Regions from separate parts of the Homo sapiens genome. Here regions 1 and 3 are each linked to region 2. Evidence: promoter capture Hi-C in 16 types of primary human blood cells and fetal thymus (Javierre and others, 2016). All regions are on one chromosome and are shown on one strand. The core of a region is centred on a gene start or on the middle of the fragment in contact, and the rest is flanking DNA. Distances in the headings are between cores, read along the strand shown. Region 1 overlaps LOC105373454 (a long non-coding RNA gene). Region 2 holds the start of WDR35 (WD repeat domain 35). Region 3 has its middle 13 kb from the start of RDH14.

Evidence for each region. The method cuts DNA at HindIII sites, captures the fragments that hold promoters and counts their contacts. A CHiCAGO score of 5 or more calls a contact.
Region 1: a fragment that was not itself captured here is called in contact with the fragment with the promoter of WDR35 in region 2 in 1 of 17 cell types (total CD4 T cells); the score reaches 6.0 in total CD4 T cells.
Region 3: a fragment that was not itself captured here is called in contact with the fragment with the promoter of WDR35 in region 2 in 1 of 17 cell types (naive CD8 T cells); the score reaches 5.4 in naive CD8 T cells.

The regions. Positions count from the first base shown.
Region 1 is chr2:18,510,579-18,514,573 of GRCh38, forward strand. It overlaps LOC105373454 (a long non-coding RNA gene), which reads left to right. Exons shown (of 8, transcript XR_001739302.1): 7 at 3,937-3,995. Among named protein-coding and RNA genes, the nearest start is that of RDH14, 48 kb to the right of the region's middle. The HindIII fragment of the contact is 1,229 bases long and covers 941-2,169 here.
Region 2 is chr2:19,988,786-19,992,849 of GRCh38, forward strand. It overlaps WDR35 (WD repeat domain 35), which reads right to left and starts at 1,320. Exons shown (of 27, transcript NM_020779.4): 1 at 1,207-1,320; 2 at 380-497. The coding sequence starts at 1,230. It overlaps WDR35-DT (WDR35 divergent transcript), which reads left to right and starts at 1,419. Exons shown (of 3, transcript NR_110235.1): 1 at 1,419-1,709. It overlaps MATN3 (matrilin 3), which reads right to left. Exons shown (of 8, transcript NM_002381.5): 8 at 3,267-4,064. RefSeq lists enhancers at 1,051-1,100, 1,117-1,620, 1,251-1,300 and a silencer at 1,461-1,540. The HindIII fragment of the contact is 12,234 bases long and covers 1-4,064 here.
Region 3 is chr2:18,545,258-18,549,359 of GRCh38, forward strand. No RefSeq gene overlaps it. Among named protein-coding and RNA genes, the nearest start is that of RDH14, 13 kb to the right of the region's middle. RefSeq lists an enhancer at 1,367-1,887. The HindIII fragment of the contact is 2,023 bases long and covers 1,447-3,469 here.

The sequences.
Region 1 (3,995 bases), core at 305-2,804, 1.5 Mb before region 2:
TGAGAAATGAATTTCTATTGTTTACAAGCCACCTACTTTATGGTAATTTGTGACAGCAATCTGAATAGAGTCAGATGTTGTTAGATATTCACATATTCCCACTTTCTCTGTTTTTATTCCATCCTATGGCTCAGACCTTCAATCTGGCATCAGTTTTCTTCTGCCTGAAATTTTTTTTTTCAGAATTTCTTTTAGTGAGAGTCAGCTGCTAAGAAATATATAGTTTAATTTACCTGAAAATGTTTTAGTTTTGCCCCCATTCCTGAGAGATGTGTTTTCTGGATAGAGAATTTGAGGACAGCAGTACCCCTCACAGCACCCATCACACACAAACACACAAAATAAAGATATCATTCCATTTCTTTGGATTCAATTGCTGCAGTTCAAAAGTCAGCTGTTCGTCTATCATTGCCTTAAAGACAACGCTTCCCTTCAGTGCCCTGCCATTACCACCACCAACACCACCAAGCTTCAGCTTTTTATCTCTGGGGTGTTCACCAGTTTTCCTATAATGTGTTTAACTTGGCTTTTCTTTAATTTTTTTCTGTTTCTGATTCATTGAATTCCTTGGGTCTCTAAATTAATGTCTTTTGCCATTTCTGGAAATTTCTAAACTGTTATATCTTCAGATATTTCTTTTTAAACATGTTATCTATGCCCTCCTTCTGGGAGTCTGAAAATATGCTAAGACCATTTCACTTAATGTTTTATGTCTCATAACTTCTCTATCACATTATAGGTCTCTTTGTTTATGTTATAATCTGGATGATTTATTCTGAATCTGTTTTACAATTTACCAATTATTTTTTAGCTGTCTCTAATCTATGGTTAAAACTGATCATTGAGTTTTTAATTTTAATCGTCTCTTTATTTGAAAAATTTCTAATTTTTGTCAAATCTGCTGTCATTTTTTGTGGATTTCCACTCCACAGATTTTTAAAGCTTTCCTTTTAATGTATTTAAACACAATATAGTTAATTATTTATTAAACTGTGTCTGACAATTCTAGTATCTTAGGTCTTTGCAAAACTTTGCCTGTTGCCTTTGTTTGTTTGTTTGCTGCTTCTTACTTATGGTTTATTGTCTCCTTGTTCTTTTTGGACTGTGAGCTGCTGCGTTTATTTGGAAAATTATTTCTGGGCCTTCTTCAAGGATAGAATGATAGTGCATTCCTCCAGAGAGTACTGATATTTGCCTCTGCAATTTGAATCTGCGCAGTTTGAAGATTTATTTTTTATTTTTTTATTTTTGTTTCCCCAAGACGGAGTCTTGCTCTGTCGCCCATGCTAGAGTGCAGTGGAATGATCTCAGCTCACTGCAACCTCTGCCTCTCGGGTTCAAGCAATTCTCCTGCCTCCGCCTCCCAAGTAGCTGGGATTACAGACACCTGCCACCATGCCTTCCTATTTTTTTGTATTTTTAGTAGAGATGGAGTTTCACCATGTTGGCCAGGCTGGTCTCGAACTCCTGACCTCCTGATCCACCCGCCTCGGCCTCCCAAAGTGCTGGGATTACAGGCATGAGCCACCGTGCCTGGTCTGAAGATTATTTTTAACAATTATTGTGAATTTGGACTCTCAGTATGTGTTAGGGATAATTTGTGGTGACAACTTCTCAGAGACTATTTTCTCAGTACCAAGGCAGATTTCTATGTGGCCCCTGCAGGAAAGGAGAGACACAGGTTTATTGTGGTGTATTAGGCAAAACAGATTTATTTTTGGTTGGATCCCAGCTTTACAGGCATATGTTGTTTAGCGGATTCTCCTCCTGGGAAAGCGTGGCCTTTGGTGTGTGGCTTCCACACTCTGTATTTTAATCTGATTTGCCCAATACTCTCAGGAAAATGTGGCCATGAGTGTCCCCTTACATCTCTGGTTTCCTGCCTTTACATAGATTTTGACCAGATAATTTCTTACTATATTATAAGCTCTTCTGTGTTTATTATATAAAAATATATTTTGGATAGCATTTCAGATATTTTCAGAAGGAGAACTTACTCAAAAAACCTAACCAGCCACACTACTTAAGCTGAAATTGTCTTCTTTCTTGACATCTTAGCTATGTTAGAGTAAGCTCAATATTGTGGCTCCAGTGACACGTGGGGTCTTGGAGGAAAGGATGGCTGTTTTACATAGATTTCAGGATTTCTAACAATCAGTATCAGAAAGAAGCTTATGTCATTCATTTGTGAGATAAGTTTTACTATTTATTATTATTATTATTTTTAGAGAGAGCCTCACTCTGTTGCCAGGCTGGAGTGCAGTGGTGTGATCTCAGCTCACTACAACCTCCGCCTCCTGGGTTCAAGCGATTCTCCTGCCTCAGCCTCCCGAGCAGCTGGGACTACAGGCGCACACCACCACGCCCAGCTAATTTTTGTATTTTTAGTAGAGACAGGGTTTCACCATGTTGGCCAGGATGGTCTCCATCTTTTGACCTCGTGATTGGCCCACCTTGGCCTCCCAAAGTGATGGGATTACATGCTTTATAATTTTTATGATAATAAAAACTACAAATTTATTTGTGAATTTATAAAATTAAATGAATGAGAAAATTATTAAACACCCAATCATTATTTTACTAGTGTTGTTTTGGTATTTTATAGACACATGTTTGAATATGTATGTGGGTTATATAAATACATATACACACATATGTGTATATAAATACACACATATATATACACAAATATGTTTATGATATTAGATTATATTAACTATGTGCCCTGCATCTATTTTTCTCCTGATATATACACATGATGCACTATTAATTGACTGTGACCATCAGTTGACCAATAATGCATTTTGTTAACTATAGTCACCATGCTGTACAATAGATCTGTAAACTTATTCTTCCTGTCTAACTGAAACTTGTACCCTCTGACCAATATCTCTGTTTTCCCAACCCACCCCTCCCCAGATTCTGCTAACCACCTTTCTACTCTCTACGTCTGTGAATTTGATTTTTTTTTTTTTTAGATTTCACATATAAGTGAGGTCATGTGGTATTTGTCTTTCTGTGTCTGATTGTTGTTCTATTTCAGATATTCAGAGGGCTCTTGATACATTCTGGCCTGTTAAAATGGATTCCACAACTAAATGACAATTATTTGTTATATGGGAATAATAATAAATGCCTCCTTCACACACAGATGTGAGGCTATAAAAATTAAATGCGACGAGCTAGATCAAATCCCAGGATCTGGTTCTTGCTAGGTACCAAAACCTGTGTCCCCATAGTATTGCTATTACTCCAATTTCTGTGAACGTAGCTATGCAATTGCAATCCAAAAAGTTCCAAGTGATAAGATTCCAGTGTCTAAATCACCTGCTTTTCCTGCCCCACCTTTTCCTACTCCTCCACCACCACCACCACCACCACCACCACCACTGGTCATTCTCATCCTCTCTAATCATTTACGCTATTAGTACAATTTTCTAAAGAATTAATTAGGAAATTATTTTACCTTAGCCTTAGCTTGAAGTTAAATAGCATTACTTGATTTATTTGGGATTCTTAATATGTAAAATATTGTATTGCAGAAGGCAAAGAATAATGGAGGAAACCAGACAAAAGGATTCTTTGTCCCAGCCCCACCACTAACCTGTGGGATGATTCTGGACCATTCTTCCCATCTTGTTCTGTGAACTGTGGGAAACTCATCACACTTGTCATTGTGGTTACTTGGGGTCGTTGTGAGAATCAGACTCGATCTTGAGAACGTGCTCTAAATGCACACAGACAGACAGGGTGTGCGTGTGTGAGGTGCAATCTACGGGAGCCAGAGTCTCAACTCCTGGGAACACATCTCCGGGCTGCATTTCCAGCTGCTTTTTCCTTCGTTTGGTGATTGTGAGCAGAGCCCTTGGGGTTTGAGAAGCTCTTAGCCCATGAGTGCAAAAAGATGAGAAATAATAATATTTTTTTTCTCCATAGGGAACTTCCAGCATCTATGAGGAAACAGAATTTCTTTTGATCACAGAAGAAAAGAGAAG
Region 2 (4,064 bases), core at 70-2,569:
ATCTGATAAGCAGAAAGGATGACACAGACCTGTAAACAATCTGCCAGATTTTCTTAGTGAAATGTTGACTCACAGGATTTCTTTTAGACTCCTAATAATATAGTACAATAATTAGACATAGCATAACACAGTGACTTATTTTCATTCTTCATTATTTTTCATTTTCCATTAATAACTCAGCAAAAACCATCCGATGTTTACATTCAACATTCTCTGAACTTTATTGCAAATATACTCCAGAAAAACACCATAAAATGTTTTGGTAGTTTTCCCTTTAAAATAATCAGAACTGCATATTGACAGATAACATGAGTAGACCGCACTGAACAAATAACATTAGCCAATTTACTACCAAACATGTGGGCTTGCATTCATTTACCTGTCTGCGTCTCTAATTTCAAAACTTTCAGTAATCCATCTTCACCACCGCATGCTATGAACCCTTGTTCCTTGTTCCAGGATACACACTGCAGCTTCACGTTATTGGGAATGGAAATCTGAAAAAGCAACCACAGCCGCACTAGCAACTTTTCACGAAGGAGCTGGGAAGTAAGTCTGCAGGAGATGAAAGCTGAAGAAAATCTTCCAAGAAGAAAAACGAACGGCCTTGCAGAAAAAAAATGAGCTGTTGTGAAAATGGGCATGGTCCCCTGAACTGACCCGGGCTCTAGCATTTGGGAAAGAGGGAAAGAAGTGCACAAAAGAGAAGGATAGTGACTGCGGAGGAAGCCAACGCCAGAGTCTCACCGGATGGATTTTTTAAAGGGAGGACGGGGAGAGGGTATAAATCCATACCACCAGTCCCTCTTCCTTTTTACCTACAACTTAGGCTATCCTATTGTTATTTCTTTTCTCTTGCCCAATGGCTCGTGGTGATCCAAAGAGTTTAAATCACGTGGATCAGCAACAAGTGGAGGAGGAAACATAGGGTAGCACGTGGCGACTTATCCTCAAGCCACCCAAAAGGACCTAGCCAGGGGCAGGAATGGGAGAGTGCTGCGAGAGGGCAGCAAGCTCGGCCAAAGACTGAGGCTCTGGGAACCGCAGGAAGAGGTCGGAGGCTGGACCCGGCGGGAAGGATGGCTGCGGAATGGCGAAGCCACGACCAGGACCGGGTGAAGGAGCCTGGCTTCTCGGGAAGGCAGCGGGAATCGCCGCAGGCTGCGGGAATGGCGGAGAAACGAGGACGCCCCCCAGGAAACTCACTTTCTTGCTCAGGTAGAAGAACATCGTGGGATCCCCGAGAGGGTCACGGCGGCCGCTAAGGCCCTCGACAAGTAACGGTTCTACGTCTCCAATCGGGAGTACCAGCAGCTCCGGAAAGCTCCCGTCGCCCTGGCAACCGCTGTTGCCCGGTCGCATCCGGGGCGCCGCGGGACACTTCCGGTGACGCCCTCGCACCGGGCACCGGCGTAGTGCGCCTGCGCGGACGTCGATGGGTTTGTGGGCGCAGGGCGCGAGGCGCGAGGCGGTAGCTGGGCTAGTCCTGTTCCCTGGCGTCTGGGCCTTTCTGCTCTCCGCAAGGAGCTGGGTCGCGACCTGTCACTGCCAGCCGTGCGCTCGCCCTCTGCGCCCCGTCTCGTGGTCACTGCCGCCCTCCCTCCCGCCACACCTGTGATGATCGCTATGGAGCCGCGCCTCAGGTGGCATTACTATAAACCTAAGAGGAGAGGCGCCCGTTCGAATAAGGGCAAATTATTTAGTATTTTGTAAGTTCCAAAGTTCCAACATTCTTGAAAGGGAAAAGCCATTTACTGTATTTGATAGGCTGGCGCCACTGGCCAGATGAAAGTGCAAATGTGCGTACTGAGATCTTACAACCCTTCTCTGTGTCTTTGGGGATTGGAGAACCTCTAGAGCAATTTAGGAATAGAAGATTTTGTTTATTCCGCTTGTTTTGATATTTTTTAACAGTTTAATTATTACCGCAACCCCGAGGGTCCTTTTAAAGGAATTTCTGTAAACGTTGGGTAATTACAGCGTACAATTGCTATTGGGGCATGGCCTCCCATTTTACAAATATTTGAGCGTTTGGTGTTTTCTCGTCTAGAGTCGACTGTTACATATTCTCTTCTTTTTCTTACCTTCTTTCTTCATTCTCCTTTGTCCTTTTGGAATGCTTGAGAGTTACAAAGCCTCAAAGTCTAAGGCATAGGGCAGAAATCCAAGTAGAACCACTCATGAAATTATTTGGTCTCACCTATGTTTTTATTTCTGGTTTTCCCTTTTACCATAATCTAGCATGTAATTTATGCATCAGTAGTTAATTTCCCCACTTGGAGTCTTTTCCCATCTCAGACAAAAATAAAATAAAAATCCTCCAATCCTTTGACCTGGGTGATTTGTCTCACCCAGCACAATCTATTATAGAATTGACAATAGTCCCTAGTGCCTTTCCTAGCAAATCTAAACTCCATCCAAAATCAGATCTTCCCTCAATCCTAAATGTTTTTACTAGGGAGCCCCCACCTCAAGTAAGCCAATATGCTTTCTGCAGGGCAACATTCCATCCGGCTCTGCTTCCCAAGCCACTTTATATATGGTCCTACCCTCTTAACAGGCCAGTTGTGCCTAGCCAAACCAGCACAAATCAGTCTCCATGAGGAATTCTTTCCAAACTTAACCCAATCCCATTCAGATAATGTTTGCTTTCCATTGTTTGTGTGTCTGTTTAAGATACATTGGCCCCTGTCCATAGGCTCCCTATACTGGACGCATGAGACAAATTAGTATTATCTAACCCAGGAGTTTCCAATAAACTGGTCAAGACATAATTAGTTGAAGCTAGTTACTGATGGTGACACCTGAAAACTCACCTCTCTTTATCTTTCCCTTCTTGCACATGAACTCTCATTTATTCCTTCTATACCACCATTTCTCTGTGGTATATTAATATGTATTACTGATTTTGGGCTCAAAAAAGTCTGGAAAATACTACTGTAGCTCTATGTCATACCCTTTCAAAATTTTTGAAAAGTAAGAGATGCTTTATATATTTCCTTGGTATATTTAGTTTTTGTTCCTTCCTTAAAGTTTATATTTTATATTTACATCTGTAGGATATATTTGCTTCTCAGGAGCTTATATTAATGTAAAGCTCATCATTATTTTATCCAAATTTAGATAATTTTATATTGAAGCCTTTCTTTTGAACCTGAACTTACACTTTTAGCCTCAGGAGTGTGAGATTAAACTATAGGAGGAGAATCAAACTTCTGTCTTTTGATAAGAAACTGTTGAATATCAAAATAACTGTTAATTCAGTATAATTTAAAGAAATATCTTTAATAGACAAAATTGATGAGTCATCAAAAATAGACATGATAATATGTAAAGGTAATAACTTTTATTATATTAAAGACAATGCAAACGAAAAACAGAATTGAGCAGTGCAAAATTTAAAGGACTGTTTTGTTCTCAAAGTTGCAAGTTTCAAAGCCAAAAGAATTATATGTATCAAATATATAAGTAAAAAAAAGTTAGACTTTCAAGCCTGTAATCCCAGCACTTTGGGAGGCTGAGGCAGGTGGATCACTAACATTAAAAAGACAACATTAGATTTTGTCGATTTATAGCAATTTTATAAATATATAACTTTGTCACTTGGATCCTGAAGCAAAATAATAAAGTGAATTTGGGATTTTTGTACTTGGTAAAAAGTTTAACACCCTAAATTCACAACTAGTGCTCTTTAGTAGTACATTTCTTTCAAAGACCAGAATGAATTAAAAATGGCAATGTAATGTTCACTTGATCTGTGTTAACTATTTTTAGATATGTGTATTACAATCTATTGATCACATCTTCAATAATACTCCAACAAAATAAGCAAAAAACAAAAAGTGTTAAACAGTTCAAAATTACATTCATCTCAGTTATATGAAGTTGTATGTGTAAATACCTTGTACAATTTGCACTCTCAGTAATAAGATTGATTTATATTATAAATACTATCAAAAGAAACTAGACCTAAAGTTTCCATTGTGAATATGGTTATCTAATATAAACATTTAAAAATTAAATGGCTCAATTAGTAGATAAAGAAACACTAAACTTTTCATTCT
Region 3 (4,102 bases), core at 1,208-3,707, 1.4 Mb before region 2:
CAATCCTGGTAGATTATATTTGTTATATGAAACAGAATCCATCCCAGATATTTTAAGGAGGAACAGAAAACATTAAAGTAGGTATGTATAAAATAATGGAAAGGCCTGGAAGAATGACATAGGTTCTAGAAATAGAAATGACTCCAAGAATACACAAGAACTGACCTGCGAGGGGAAGGTACTACTTCTGCCCAAATCTGCACCTTCAGGAAGTTGTAAGACCTAAAGACTGCCAATGGAAATAAAAGTTAAAACACATGGCATCATGTGTGTCATACTAGGATCTAAACATCAGCGAACTGGAATCAAGATACCATCATGACTGCAACCTCCTCTCAACACCCATCAGGAGGTGAGTCAACATGGAATCATTGTAGAATCGGCCCCAATTGCCTCTTGTTATCAAAGAAAACAAAACGAAACAAAATTGACTCTGTTTCTATGGCCTTTCTTGCCAGCAGAAAATAGCCAAAAACTATAGGTAAAAAGGCCTGCTCAGTTGTCCCCTCAACATCTAATTTCATGGGTATATGTTTGCTGGAAACTGGTTTTCATTCTTGATGTAGGCAATGTAGTTTGTTTTTGTTTTTAAATTGTCCAACTCATGCAAGATAAAAAAGGGCACTCTAGATGTAGGTAGGAAAGAAAACTGAATACCAATTGACCATATCCAAGATATTTCATGTTCCATTTGTCTTATGTTCCTACAAATGTAATATAAAAATTTTTGCAAGATACCCTATCTTACACATAGTCTACTCTTTGCATGCAGTCTCTTAATGCAGATGTATGTATGCATTTGAGAATACGGTTGAAACTGTGCCCTGGAGTTGGTTGTAAATTATTATACTTAGTAGCATACTACATGAGATTCTGTGTAGTACTATACCTAAGGATGCTATAGCTAATTATTAAGTATGTAATAAGTGTATCATTGAACATCCCTATGCCATATGTAGGCTGAAGAAAAAGCCAGACAAACCTCCACCGAGAAAAGAGCACACACATGTGACTTTTTACATCCCACATTTACTTTAATGAAATATGGACGCCCTAATCTGCTGTTTCTTTCCTTTCTACTATGCTACAATACTTTTCTTAATTAAGAATAATCATTTTTTTTGGTAGCTTCAGTTATTTCTTTCAAAATATCCAAATACAGTTATCTTCCTCTTTTCCAGTTCATAAAGAGAACATGCAAAATATGTGTTCAGTGAAGAATGAAAAATATATATCCAAGCCTTCTCCAAAAAGGCCTCAGTGACTTTTGCAACATCCTCAACTTCATTTATCTATAGGATGGCTTTTGATAGCTTTATGTAAGCTTTTTAAAGTTCAGCCAAGCCAGCTGCATGATCAACACAAAGACAATAGCTCCCACACACAGGGTTACATGGATTAAAGAACCCGATCCATCAGTAAACCTGCCAGATGGCAGTGGAAGAAAGCTTGTAACTCTCTCACTTTCATTTCAACAGCAGCAAACAATGTTCAATGTTTAAAATAAACTCTTCCAGATGAGCTAAAGATAAACTCTGAGGTGGGTGGACTTGATCTTGTTAGGCTGCAGCTCTGAAGTGTTTGATTACATTAACACAAAACCCCTGGGTAGAACCCACTTCTGTCAACAGAATGCCTAGACTCAAACACCTACTACACAAAGCCATTTCCTGTGCTTTCATGGGTTGGTGGCAGAAACTCGCTCTGCTTTTTTCACAAACTAATAATAATTATATATTTTTCTGTGCTCAACATTTCCTCAAACCATGTGGATAACTTCAAGATGTAACTAAAATGCCAACATATATGTATGCCTGCACAGATAAAATGTTTTGAATCTGTTTACAACTTAAAATTCTACTATTTATTCACCTTACTACTCTCATAGTAGCAAAAATGGGGGCTATTAGGAAGATTTAGAACCAATTTCATTCTGTCAAAAGCTGGAGAACTATCTACATCTGTGGGTTATACCAAAAAGAAAAAAGAGGAAGGTACAAGTGCTTAAGTTCAACATTATAAAGGAAGGTAGAAACTTTTTTGTTTTTAATAGACTCTAAAACCCCCAACTTAGGACAAACCAGCCTGGAATAGTTCATATGTAACATGGCAACTTCCAAATATAAAATGACATACGAAAAATAACTTTATTATAAACATTCAGAAACATATTTATCACAATTAATAGGAGATTTTAAAATGAGAGAGAGAGAAACAAATCTGATGATGAAACTAAATTTTAAGAACTGGCTACAAAAACACTTTAGGACCAAATATATCAAGTTATCAATTCAATATACTGGTGCATTTTAAAAAATAAAACTATTCCCAAATTTAGATTAGAACTCCTTGGAAAAACATGCTTCACGACACAGAACACATTTATTTCTATCCCTCCAAACGAAAACTCTTCTGATATGAAGTGATACCTCTGCTGTACAATAGAAGCATTCTTATTTTGAATTGGTTGGTTACATTTAAAAAGTTGATTAAAGCAGAAAATAAAAAAGATGAATTATATGTACCACAAAATGTTTGAACTTAAAACATATAACATGTTCATTTCTTTGTCTATCTTCTAATATAAGGCTACGGGTTCAACTGGTATCTTCGTTGTTTTCCTTTTTGAGCATGGACTCACTTGGAATTTCATTTTCTTACATTGTTCAAGAATACCTTGTTTTATCATGCTTCACTTGACTGTGCTTTGCAGGTACTGCATTTTTTTTTTTTTTTTAACAAACTGAAGGTTTCTAGCATCCCTGCATGGAGCAAATCCATTGGTGACATTTTTTCAATGGTTTGTGCACACTTCATGTCTCTGTCATATTTTGGTAATGCTTAGCAATATTTCAAACTTTATGGCTGGGTGCAGTGGCTCACGCCTGTAATCCCAGCACTTTGGGAGGCTGAGGTGGGTGGATCATGAGGTCAGGAGATCAAGACCATCCTGGCTAACACGGTGAAACCCCGTCTCTACTAAAAATATAAAAAATTAGCCAGGCGTCGTGGTGGGCGCCTGTAGTTCCAGCTACTCGTGAGGCTGAGGCAGGAGAATGGCGTGAGCCCAGGAGGCAGAGCTTGCAGTGAGCTGAGATAGTGCCACTGCACTCCAGCCTGGGCGACAGAGCAAGACTCCGTCTCAAAAAAAAAATGTATTTCAAACTTTATTATTTTATCTGTAATAGTGATTTGTAATCAGTAATCTTTGATGTTATCCTAGTAATTGTTCTGGGGCACTAGAAGCCCCACCCATATAAGATGGCAAATGTAATTGATAAATGTTGTGTGTGTTCTGACTGCTCCGGTCATTCCCACATCTCTTTCCCTCTCCTTGGGCCTCCCCATTGCCTGAGACACAACAATATTGAAATTAAGTCAATTAATAATCCTACAATGGCTACTAAGCATTCAAGTGAAAGAAAGAGTCTCACATCTCTCAATTTAAATCAAAAACTAGGAACTATTAAGCTTAGTGAGGAAGGCATGTTGAAAGCCAAGAAAGGCCAAAAGCGAGGCCTCTCCTGCCAAACAGTTGGCCAAGTTATGAACACAAAGAAAAGTTCTTGAAAGAAATTAAACATGCAATTCCAGGAAACACATGAATGATAAGCAAGTGAAACAGCCTCATATTGCTGATATGGAGAAAGTTTTAGTGGGCTGTCTAAAGTGATCTTCTAAGATCAAACCAGCCACAACATTCCCTAAAGCCAAAACCTAATTCAGAGCAAGGCCCTAACTCAACTCTATCTGGGTTGAGAGAGGTGAGAAAGCTGCAGAAGAAAAGTTTGAAGCTAGCAGAGGTTGGTTCATGAGGTTTAGGGAAAGAAGCCATCTCTGCAACATTAAAGTGCAAGGTGAAGCAGCAAGTGCTAATGCAGAAGCTACAGCAAGTTATCCAGAAGAGCTAGCTAAGAACATTGATGAAGGTGGCCACACTAAGTGATATGGTTTGACTGTGCCCCACTCAAATCTCATCTTGAATTGTAGCTTCCACAATTCCCATGTGTTGTGGGAGGGACCCGTGGGAGGTAATTGAATCATGTGGATGGGTCTTTCCTGTGCTGTTCTCATGGTAGTGAATAAGTCTCAAGAGATCTGG